Linked DNA regions of Homo sapiens: region 1 is linked to region 2. Evidence: promoter capture Hi-C in human tissues and cell types (Jung and others, 2019). All regions are on one chromosome and are shown on one strand. The core of a region is centred on a gene start or on the middle of the fragment in contact, and the rest is flanking DNA. Distances in the headings are between cores, read along the strand shown.

Region 1 (5,299 bases), core at 507-3,006, 46 kb after region 2:
GCCTGTACTGTTGCAAACAAAGGTAGACAGACATTCTTGCGTCTTTAGAAATGATGTGTAGCTCTTTGCAATTGTGTAAGTTATAATTGCAGGTCTTTGGAGTCAGAACCAGGTACTTCAAAACTGGTATTGTCTAGTCCTGATTCACAACTATTGTTAGACCTCTTTTTGACTCTCAATTCCCTTAACTAAAAAGGAGGATGAAAACACTCACTTCACCAGATATTAAGGTAAAACAAGATAAAAGTATGAAATATCCTTCAAATATTAGATATTTTTATTCATTAAATATGTATTTAATAATGTATTCATTCAACTAATATTTGTCACAAGCCATTAGTCATTCCCCTTACCTGTACCTGAAGAGTCAGAGAGTTATAGAAATTTGTGTCATGCCTGTAATCCCAGCACTTTGGGAGGCCAAGGCAGGCAGATCACGAGGTCAGAAGATCGAGACCATCCTGGCTAACAGGGTGAAACCCCCGTCTCTACTAAAAATACAAAAAATAGCTGGGCGTGGTGGCAGGCACCTGTAGTCCCAGCTACTAGGGAGGCTGAGGCAGGCGAATGGTGTGAACCCGGAAGGTGGAGCTTGCAATGAGCCAAGATGGCGCCACTGCACTCCAGCCTGGGCGACAGAGCAAGACTCCTTATAAAAAAAAAAAAAAAAGAAAGAAAGAAAGAAAGAAATTTGTGAAAGTTATTGCATTGGAGATCTTTGGATGTGTGACTGTCCCTTATACAGCTCCTAAGAGTGAAGTTCATGTGTAGATGTGATTGTATAATAAAAACGAACAAACCAAAAAGAGTTTCCTTAAAATCACACAGCTGGTAAAAAGCCTAATCAACATCCTACCCAGAGTGTCAGACTCCAGTATTCACTTTCAACTCTTTTTGCCCTGCTCACTCCCCAGAAGACAAGGCAGTAATTCACAAAGAGGACAATGATTGGTTTATTGGAATTTTACAAAACATTTGTACCCAAGGGTGTTGTTCCTGTAGTAAGAGTGCCTCTTCTGATTTTCAAGCTTCTTATTGTTCACAACCGGTACAAAAAATATGAAAGCCCGCTCTAAATTTTCCATCTCCAAAGAATTCGCAGGGATTGGGGATGAAAGCCAGGTGAAATAATCTCCAATTCCATCATCCTGCCCTACAGCAGACATAGCACAAATTTCTTTTTAGCAAATTAGCTGAAAATCTAGTCATCTCTAGCTAAAAATATCTAAACACCAAGCACAAACAGATCCAAGTTCAACACATAAGCTCAGCTATGCACTCACACTTTTATCCTTTAGGAAACACACTCATATCCTTTGAGAAATAGTATTTCTGAAGCACAGACACACATACTATCACACGCAAAAGATATTCATCAAAGGCTTTATTTATATATCCATTTGGAGAAAGTCCATAGGAGAATTTGCCAGGAATGAAGATGAAGAGGAGGCAGCAATGATTCGTATTTTGCCCTCTTCTGCCCAAGAGAAATATTGATAACTATTCTATAGTTGTGCCATAGCCAAAAACAGTGGTCATCCTGATGTTAGAATTCCAATGACAAGCCCTAAATTAGCTCTAACCTGGCACAGAGTAATTCTACAAAAGGGCACAAAAACCCCAGAACTTTGGATGGCTTCCTTGTTGCTGGGTAGATTTTGGACTCTAGCTCTGGCTCTGGGACTGATTAATTGTGTAACAGTGAGCAGGCTCTTTGCCTGTGTTTTCTCATCTGAAAAATGAGGCATTTGAGAAAAACAGGAAGATTGGAGCTAAATAGCCTCAGGTCTTTTTCAGCCCTAAAAATGCTATAGTTTGTAATTCTTTCATACATTGCACAGCCCCAAGTTCCACTTTGAAAAGCTTCTGTCTCCAGAGTATTAGAGTTTTCCCCATCCCAGTCATATCAACACAACTTTTAGGCTTCCATGGTTACTATATAATTGTCTCAGTTGGTATTTCTCACTGATGTTGTTTAGAACAGCTGTAGAGGTATGTACCTTGATTATTGGTGCAGTTACTGATGAGGCAAATAACCTTGGTCTTGAATAATTCTTTTTATGCTTGAGGTGTTCCTAATTGCTATATGTAATTAAAGAGCCTGAACATATAGAAGCTATGAGAAAGTGAGTTTAGTTTACTGAAAATAAGATCTCACCCGAGGCTTTATGTAAACGCCTGGGGCTTTTTAATCTTCACAGTTTTCTAAATGTCCTTTAAGTTTCAGCACTCTGAGTGCAAAGTACATTGTCTCAATGCAGTATCTTGTATGTAAATTTCTCTCATCTTGTCTTAGTTGGCTCAGGCTGTTATAACAAAATACCATAAATAAGCTTATAAATAGCTTATTTCCTCCGAATAGCTTAAAAACAACAAAAACTTATTTCTCACAGTTCTGGAGGCTGGAAAGTCCAAGATCAAGGCACTGGCAAAGTCGGTGTCTGGTAAAGGTCTGCTTTTTAGTTCAGAGACAACCGTCTTCTCACTGTGTCGTCGCATGGTAGAGAAAGGGCAAACAAGCTCCCTTGGGCTGTTTTACAAGGGCACTAATCCTACTCATGAGGGCTCTACCCTCATGACCTAATCATCTCTTAAAATGTCCCCCAATACCATAATTTGGGGGATTAAAGATCAACATACAAATTTTGGGGGGACACAAACATCCAGACCATAGCATCTCCTCAAATATCAAGGAATGACTATAGTACCTCTGTTTTCCAAGCATATGCCCATGAACTCTAAACACTGAAAAATTTGCCACACAAAGTATAAATCAGAACTTTGTCATGGAAGTGTCCATAAATGACTTGAAAAGAGTCTGCAAGTGTCCACATATGACTGTATCAAGTCAACAGGCATTTTTTTTAACTACTTCGATATGGCAAGCAGTGTGCCCCATATTCACTGTGAAGGACTCGCACAAAGTAAGAAATAGAAATACTGCTTCCTTCCTAGGAAATAAATCTATAGAATCAGGTGCCCCCAATCTCAGCCAAACCTAACTTGAATCATTTCCTTTAATGGAACTGCCCATGATTTCAAAGAAGCAGAGATGATATGTTAAGTCTGAGATGGCATAAATTTGGCCTGCTCAGTGGAATGTCTCGCCCCCATTCCTGTTTCCCCAGCTTCTGCCTGCCCCAGTTCTCCCACAGCTGGGTCAACTCATTTAATCTTCTACAGATCCAGCCTCACTATTTATTTTCAGAGCAATTTGAGTTTTAGCAGGATATAAATAAGTAGCCTCAAGCCCAATGCCTCCATTTATCTAGGCTTATTATAGCACCCCTTTTCCTGCAGGCTGGCCCCAGCAATGGACACAGGCACTATGTCCTAGGCTGCCCTCACTTCATTCTCAACGAGAGCCATTCTGTATTGTTTCCAGATCCCACCACCCTCATCCCAACCCTAATCCTGCCCCACTAATTTCAGTCCGCATTGAAAACAGACCAAGTCATCAAAAATCAGTTCCCTGAAGGAGCAATTTTTTGAATGACTAATTCACTGAATGTAATAAATTTTCTAGTGTGCCAACAATTTTGTTGAAACATTTATTTTGAGTATATTAAATTAATTTGAGTATATTAAATTAAAACAATATTGAAGACACACTTTGTTTAGATATGATTAAGAATGTATTCTTCTTGAGTATATGAAATATGAATATTCTCATGAACCTATTCTTCAGGAACATACTCATACTCATAAGAAAACTAAATGACTCGTGATTTTCAGCATTTATAAATTTGAGCATTATTTAAAATACAGCTGAGTAAAATATATTAATTGAAGATATTCAAAAGGACTATTTTTCAATATGATATTTTGATAATTGAAAAATTTGATCAAGTGGTCATTTGACATTTGACCCTTTAGTGAATTAGCTTTCTGCAAATTGACTTGTCAATGGGATCTCGAGCCATCTGAGTGCTGTGTTCATACTTCTATACTTACCAGCAGCCTTCCTGGATTTCTGAGTGTTTCCCCACACCATCCACCTTGGTTGAGCTCTGCTACATCTGACCCCTGGTGTTGACTGGAGAATGCCATTCCCTGAAGTAGCTGGGTCTTACTTATGTGACTGAAACACCATTGCTAGATGCCTTGCCCTACCCAAATGGTGCCACATAGCTCTAAGACCCAACTCCTCTTCCAATCTCCTGCTCAGCATCACTGGTGAATCTTGAGCTATGACAGAACCAACAGCCTGTGCTCTTCTACTTTCAAAACCCAGATTTTAAATGTCTTCTAGTCTCTCATAATCATGCAAAGGGGATAAGAAAACTTGAAAACTCTCAGAGATATGTATTAAGATTGACTCACTATGTAGAAAAAAATCTTCTCTGGCTTTTAACCAACTATCTCTATTAGAAAAAACCTTATCATTTAGGGTATGATAGAAGTAGCTGGGCAAGAAAGTGGATCATTTTTAGCATCTATTTGACGCATCTGGGTTAAGAATAATATTTTCCCTTACTTCCTTATAAAGACAAATATGTATTCCTAAACAATTTATGCTAGGAAGTAATAACATATTTTTTTTAATAGTGCACATCACCAAATTCAATTTTGGATATTATGACTTATCAACAAGGCTTTCCTGGTCTTTCATAAACAGACTTCAAATAATTACCTTTATTTCTTCAAATAGACCTACATAAGTTGTTAGAGTAGTTCCACCAAACATCCTAAAGTCTTTTTTACCTTGCAGATCCTCATCCTCACCACAGATATAATGACTTTATATTAAATATCTTAAACCAATTAGAGATTTCTGGTATGGTATGAAACATTTCAAAATAATTATCAGTTATAAAAAAACTAAATCCTAAAAACTTGACGACTAACAGAGCTGTATTAATTTGTAAATACAGCCATTAAAATAGTAAAACCTTATTTTTCTTGGCACTCAAGAAAAATGCTAGTTTAAAAAGCTTGATTTCTCAGATAAAAATATTGTAGCAATTGTTGAACTGCCACATGTATAAGGTATAGTTATCAGAAAAGCAAGTATATGAGGAGCAACGAGAACACATCAGTTCTTTGGGTTATTTTCTGTTAGATTGTGACAATGTGAATGGAACGGATGAGATCATGTGAATAGCAACAGGTGCTGGGGTCCAGTGAATACACCATGATGGTCTACAGTGACCTTCTCCAAGGGTATCCATGTTTTATTCAGTATAAGTATTTTAACCTGGAAAAAAATATTTCAATTGCATCCATCATGATGGCATGCTTAACTGCCTTTTGGAGGCTTTATTTATAATAATGGTTTTCTAAAACTGACTACACGTTA
Region 2 (5,327 bases), core at 1,544-4,043:
TATCAGTCAACTCCACAAATTCAGTGATTTACACAACAAATTTTACCTCTCATTCATACAAAACTTGCTTTAGGTTCATACAGATCTCCAGAGCAAGACTTAATCTCTCAGTTGGCTCAAGATTTCAGGCTGCTTGAGTCTTATACTACCTTCTTATAAACAGGAGCCCCCAGGCTATCACAGAGAAGGAGAAATCATGCAGACCCAAGCATTAGTTATTGCTGGCTTCCACCTCTTATTAGATGACAATGTTGATTATTATAAAGTAGGCAGGAAATAAAATAGAGATAAGGTTAACCTGAACTTTTAAAAATTGTATCATTTAATTTTAGAACTGGAAAGGTCTCTAAAAATAATCCAGTCAAATCCCTCACTATGCTTTGAATGTGTCCCCCAAAGCTCATGTGTTGAAAACTTAATACAAGTGCAAGAGTCTTGGAAAGTGGGGCCTAAAAAGAGATGATTGGATCACGAGGGTTCTGCTCTCATGAGTGAATTAAGGCCATTACCTCAGAAGTGGGCTAGTTACAGAAGGTGGGCTTGTTATAAAAGTGAGACCATGTGCAGAGGCTCACACCTATAATCCCAACACCTTAGGAGGCCGAGGTGGGTGGATCACTTGAGGCCAGGAGTTTGAGACCAGCCTGGACAACATAGTGAGACCTTGCCTCTAAAAAATACAAAAAAAAAAAAACAAAAAAAAAACACCGTAACTGGTCATGGTTGCTCAAACCTGTAGTTCCAACTACTTGGAAGGCTGAGGCAGGAGAATCACTTGAGCCCAGGAGTTGGAGGCTTTAGTGAGCTATGATGGTGCCACTGCCACTCCAACCTGGGTGACAGAGCAAGACCCTGGCTCTTTAAAAAGAAAAAAAAAAGTGAGTTCAGCCCCCTCTTTCTCTCTTTCTTTCTCTCATGCTCTCTTGCCGTTCTACCTTCTACCATGGGATGATGCAGCAAGAAGGTCCTTGCAAGATGCTGGAACCTTGATATTGGATTTCCCAGCCTCCAGAACTATGAGAAATATTTTTTTTCTTTATAAATTTCATAGTCTGTGGTATTCTGTTTTGGCAACACAAAATAGACTAAGATGCCTCTTTATTTTACAGATGCAGAAACAGACAGCCAGAGAAAGTACAAGAATTGTTGTCCTAGGTTACCTATCCTGCAATAGCAGAGTCTAAAGTTAAATTCAGATATCTCTACTAGCTCTCTCCTGGCTGCAGTTCTGCTACCAACCCTTGGAAATGTGCTAAACATTCTTGTTTCTTCTGTAATAGCCCAAAGAACAGTACAACATGGTGATTAAGTATCCCTTTTCCAAATTTATATTTAATGGAAAACCCAGAAATGATGATAATAATAGGGGAAATGTTCTCAGACCTGAAATGGTACTACAGTAGCTATTATTAATTTCTATTCATTGTATATTAACAATCTGAGACTTATTGTCCAACCTAACTGAAAATGCAGGATTCAATACGATATTGAAGAATAATATTTTTGCTATGGCAAGGAAGAATAAGGTTTGTGAGAAGAGACAGAATGGCATGTCATGGAACTTTGAAGTCTTCAAAAATAAGATTTGTTTTTCATCATACTTTCTGAATCAACATTATTTTAAAATGAATATACCCTCAACCTTTCCTACTCACACAGCCCTACACAGTCTATACTATCAGTAGGGAGAGCTAGAGTGCTGAGCTAGCTGTTACATGTGTTTTTTGTTTCCATTTGCTGAGTAAGGGGGAAAATCAAACAATCAACATATCAAGATAAGTGAAATACCTGCTGTGTTTATTGAAGGGTGTGGCTGGTAATGACTAATGCAACCATTTTCTACTTGAACAGATTCGGGTTCAAAATGATACTTCAGTTATTTCTAAAATGAAAAGAATGATCGCAGTTCTATTACTACTTCCAGTTATTAAATCATTATCAATATCAACTATTTCCTTTCCCTTCCCCTGTTTCCATTTAAACCTCCAGCACTATGTGGGAGAATGCAGCCATCTGGTCATGAGGCTAAGCTGAGAAGAATGCTGCCCTAAAGCATCCTGGGAAATGCTGGACCAGAAGTACTTCTGTTAGATACTTCTTTGCTAAATCACGCATCTTGCAAAATTGACCATTAAGAGATACAACTATTGTATGTCCCAAATACTCTGGTTAAAAATGTAGGGTGATCTTCCTTTTAGGCCCTATGTAATATCTTCCGACTTTATGGATACTTAGACATATAATTTATTCGAATGACAGCCTGCTTACTTGATACCATTGACAGAAAATAGTTATAAATAAATGTCTAAAGCTAGTGTGACTCTATCCAAAGATTCTGTATAATCCCGTTTAGAGTAATGAGGACTATAACGACAATCTTAAGTACACTATTTTTTTAAAAGAAATCTGATACATCTGACTCTTATGCATGGGATTGATGATATTCTTCCTCCAATGGATTATGAAGCAGAAAGTCTAGGTAAGAATAAAAGCAGTCCCTTAGTTACTGGAGTAGCTTAGACCTCTCACAGGTTATATTTGTAGTTCACATCAAGCCTGAGCAAGTATTTGGACTAATTTTACATGTTGAAACCAAAGGGGAAGCTTAGCAAGTACACCGTTTCTTGCTTTGAAAGAGTCAGTCTAAGATATACGTATATCATTTTGTTCACACACTGAACTCCCCTCCCTTTTTTTCCTGCTTCTCTCCTGCTTGGAGCTGACTCCTCCTTCCTGCAGCTCCGAGGATCACAGGCTGATTGAAGAACACAGCGGTTCAGATGGGATTCTGTGCACAAGCTCCCTCTGACTGGCTCGCGCTCGCCCTCTCTCTCTCTCTCTCTGTCTCTCTCTCTCTCTCCACCTTCAAAGCTGAAACCTACCTGACAATCTCCTGCCTTTGAATCCAGCTCTGGAACCAAATGCATCATTTTACTGCTCTTAAAAGTGAACAGAGTTTGATTATCTCAAGCTACAAGCTGCTTTGCTCCATAAGAAGGACCCCAAAGGATCCAGACATCATTGGTTTTTAATGTACCTGAAGAGTTTTGTTTTGTTTATTTTTTTGGCTTTCTTCCCTGAAACTTGATGGTGGGAAGGAGTTTTTGCTTTGTTTTTAATTGGAATGTTGAAAAGTTATCTGTTCGGGTTTTTTTTTTTTTATGCTTGAAATGGAACCTAATTTTTAAATATAGCTTGAGTCAGATCTAAAGGAGACATGGCTGACCATTTTCTGCAGGACTGACAAGGAGAACATCTAGAGGGGAACTTGGTAGGAGGAATGAAATCTGATTTGCAGCAGCCGGTCTTTCTTTTGAGAAAATTATCAGACTCATTGATAAGGGAAATTAAATATTGACCAAGGACAATGTCTTTATTTCTCAGTAACTTATCAACAAATGACTCTAGCCTGTGGAAAGAGAATCATAATTCTACGGACCTTTTAAATCCGCCAGGAACCCTGAATATCTATCTTTTTTGCTTGACATGTCTCATGACTTTTGCAGCCTTGGTGGGCAGCATTTATTCACTAATTTCCCTGCTGAAAATGCAGAACAGAACTGTTGTGTCCATGCTTGTGGCTTCCTGGTCTGTGGATGATCTCATGAGCGTCCTGTCGGTGACCATCTTCATGTTTTTGCAGTGGCCAAACGAGGTCCCCGGTTACTTCCAATTTCTGTGCACCACCTCTGCCTTAATGTATTTATGCCAGGGCCTCTCTAGCAACTTGAAGGCGACTCTCCTAGTCTCTTACAACTTTTATACGATGCACAGAGGTGTGGGGAGCCAGACAGCCTCCAGAAGATCGGGCCAGGTGCTCGGCGTGGTGCTGACCGTGTGGGCAGCCAGTCTGCTGCTCTCGGCGCTCCCGCTGTGCGGCTGGGGCGCCTTCGTGCGCACGCCCTGGGGCTGCCTGGTGGACTGCTCCAGCTCCTACGTACTATTCCTCTCTATCGTGTACGCTTTGGCCTTCGGACTCCTCGTGGGCCTCTCAGTCCCACTCACTCACCGATTGCTGTGTTCGGAGGAGCCGCCGAGACTCCACTCCAACTACCAGGAAATTTCCCGTGGAGCTTCAATTCCTGGGACCCCTCCTACTGCGGGGAGAGTGGTTTCCCTGTCCCCAGAGGATGCTCCAGGCCCGAGTCTGCGGCGCTCTGGGGGATGCTCTCCGAGCTCCGACACCGTGTTCGGACCGGGTGCGCCCGCTGCCGCTGGGGCTGAAGCCTGCAGGCGTGAGAACCGGGGGACTCTCTATGGCACCAGGAGCTTCACCGTGAGCGTAGCGCAGAAGCGCTTCGCTTTGATCCTAGCGCTTACAAAAGTCGTCCTTTGGCTGCCCATGATGGTAAAAGTGCAGTTGCTCACAAAGCGCGAGTGTGTGTGCCAGACAGTGTAAATGAGTGTTGGGACCGGCGTCGCCGGTTTGGGGAGTCACCAAGAGACACACAGTGAAGTCCGCTTCCAAGTGTATCTCGCTGGGTTTTAGACATGCACTTAGAAGAAGGCAGTTCGGGACAGGGCTAGTTGGCTGCGAAACCTTTACTACTAAATGCTTCTCCTTTCAAAAGTCAGGGGCATGGGGATCGCTTTCCGTCGCGAGCGACTTAGTTTTCCATATCGGTGGTGGCCAAGGATATTGTCTCACACAGCAAAATCAGAGAGTATTCAGAAAAGGAAAGAGGGAATTAAAAGGTTTTTTCCCCACAACCTTCTGTCATCCCTTTCTCGCCGTTCCATTCCCGCCTAGAGAGGACGACGCCCATCTCCAGCAGGGCGGGATAGAGGGGAGGAGAGATCAGTTGTGGAGGGAGAAGACAGGGAACAAAACAGGCTTTTGTTCCTCCTTCCAGGAGGAAGCCGATTAAGAGGTGGCAGAGTGGCGCCCCACTGTGACGAGCGCGCATGGGCGGAGGTGAGGGTCCAGGGAGGCGACAAAGGCCATTCGGAGAATCAGATGCGGGTTTCACGGACGCCTGTTTCCTAGCTAGCGTCCCCCACGTTGTAGACTGTGCCTTTCTGGTGGAGTCTTGAATAGGCAGCGGGCGCAGATCCGGCACTCAAAAGCTGAAACCCCTCCCAACCCTGGGGGTGTGCCCCGCCGTTCCCAGGAGCCCATCACCAAGGACAGGGAGCCAGCTCCGTAGCAGAGGTCCCCGCTGTCCATCAGGAGAAGGAACTGGAAAGGGAACTGAGGCAGCGTGCGTGGAGAAAAGGCTTGAGAAGTACAAAGTATAATTTTAGGTTAGGTCTGAAGTTCTCTTGCCCTTGCAGATGCACATGGTGGTCCAGAACGTCGTGGGGTTTCAGAGCCTTCCCTTGGAGAC

Evidence for each region. The method cuts DNA at HindIII sites, captures the fragments that hold promoters and counts their contacts. A contact is called where the count stands out against the background at its distance.
Region 1: a fragment that was not itself captured here is called in contact with the fragment with the promoter of GPR149 in region 2 in 1 of the 25 tissues and cell types used here (stomach).

The regions. Positions count from the first base shown.
Region 1 is chr3:154,381,076-154,386,374 of GRCh38, reverse strand. All of the region lies in intron 3 of GPR149 (G protein-coupled receptor 149), which reads left to right. Among named protein-coding and RNA genes, the nearest start is that of GPR149, 46 kb to the left of the region's middle. RefSeq lists an enhancer at 2,390-2,559. The HindIII fragment of the contact is 3,757 bases long and covers 1-3,634 here.
Region 2 is chr3:154,427,656-154,432,982 of GRCh38, reverse strand. It overlaps GPR149 (G protein-coupled receptor 149), which reads left to right and starts at 2,793. Exons shown (of 4, transcript NM_001038705.3): 1 at 2,793-4,348; 2 at 5,275-5,327. The coding sequence starts at 3,368. The HindIII fragment of the contact is 11,418 bases long and covers 1-5,327 here.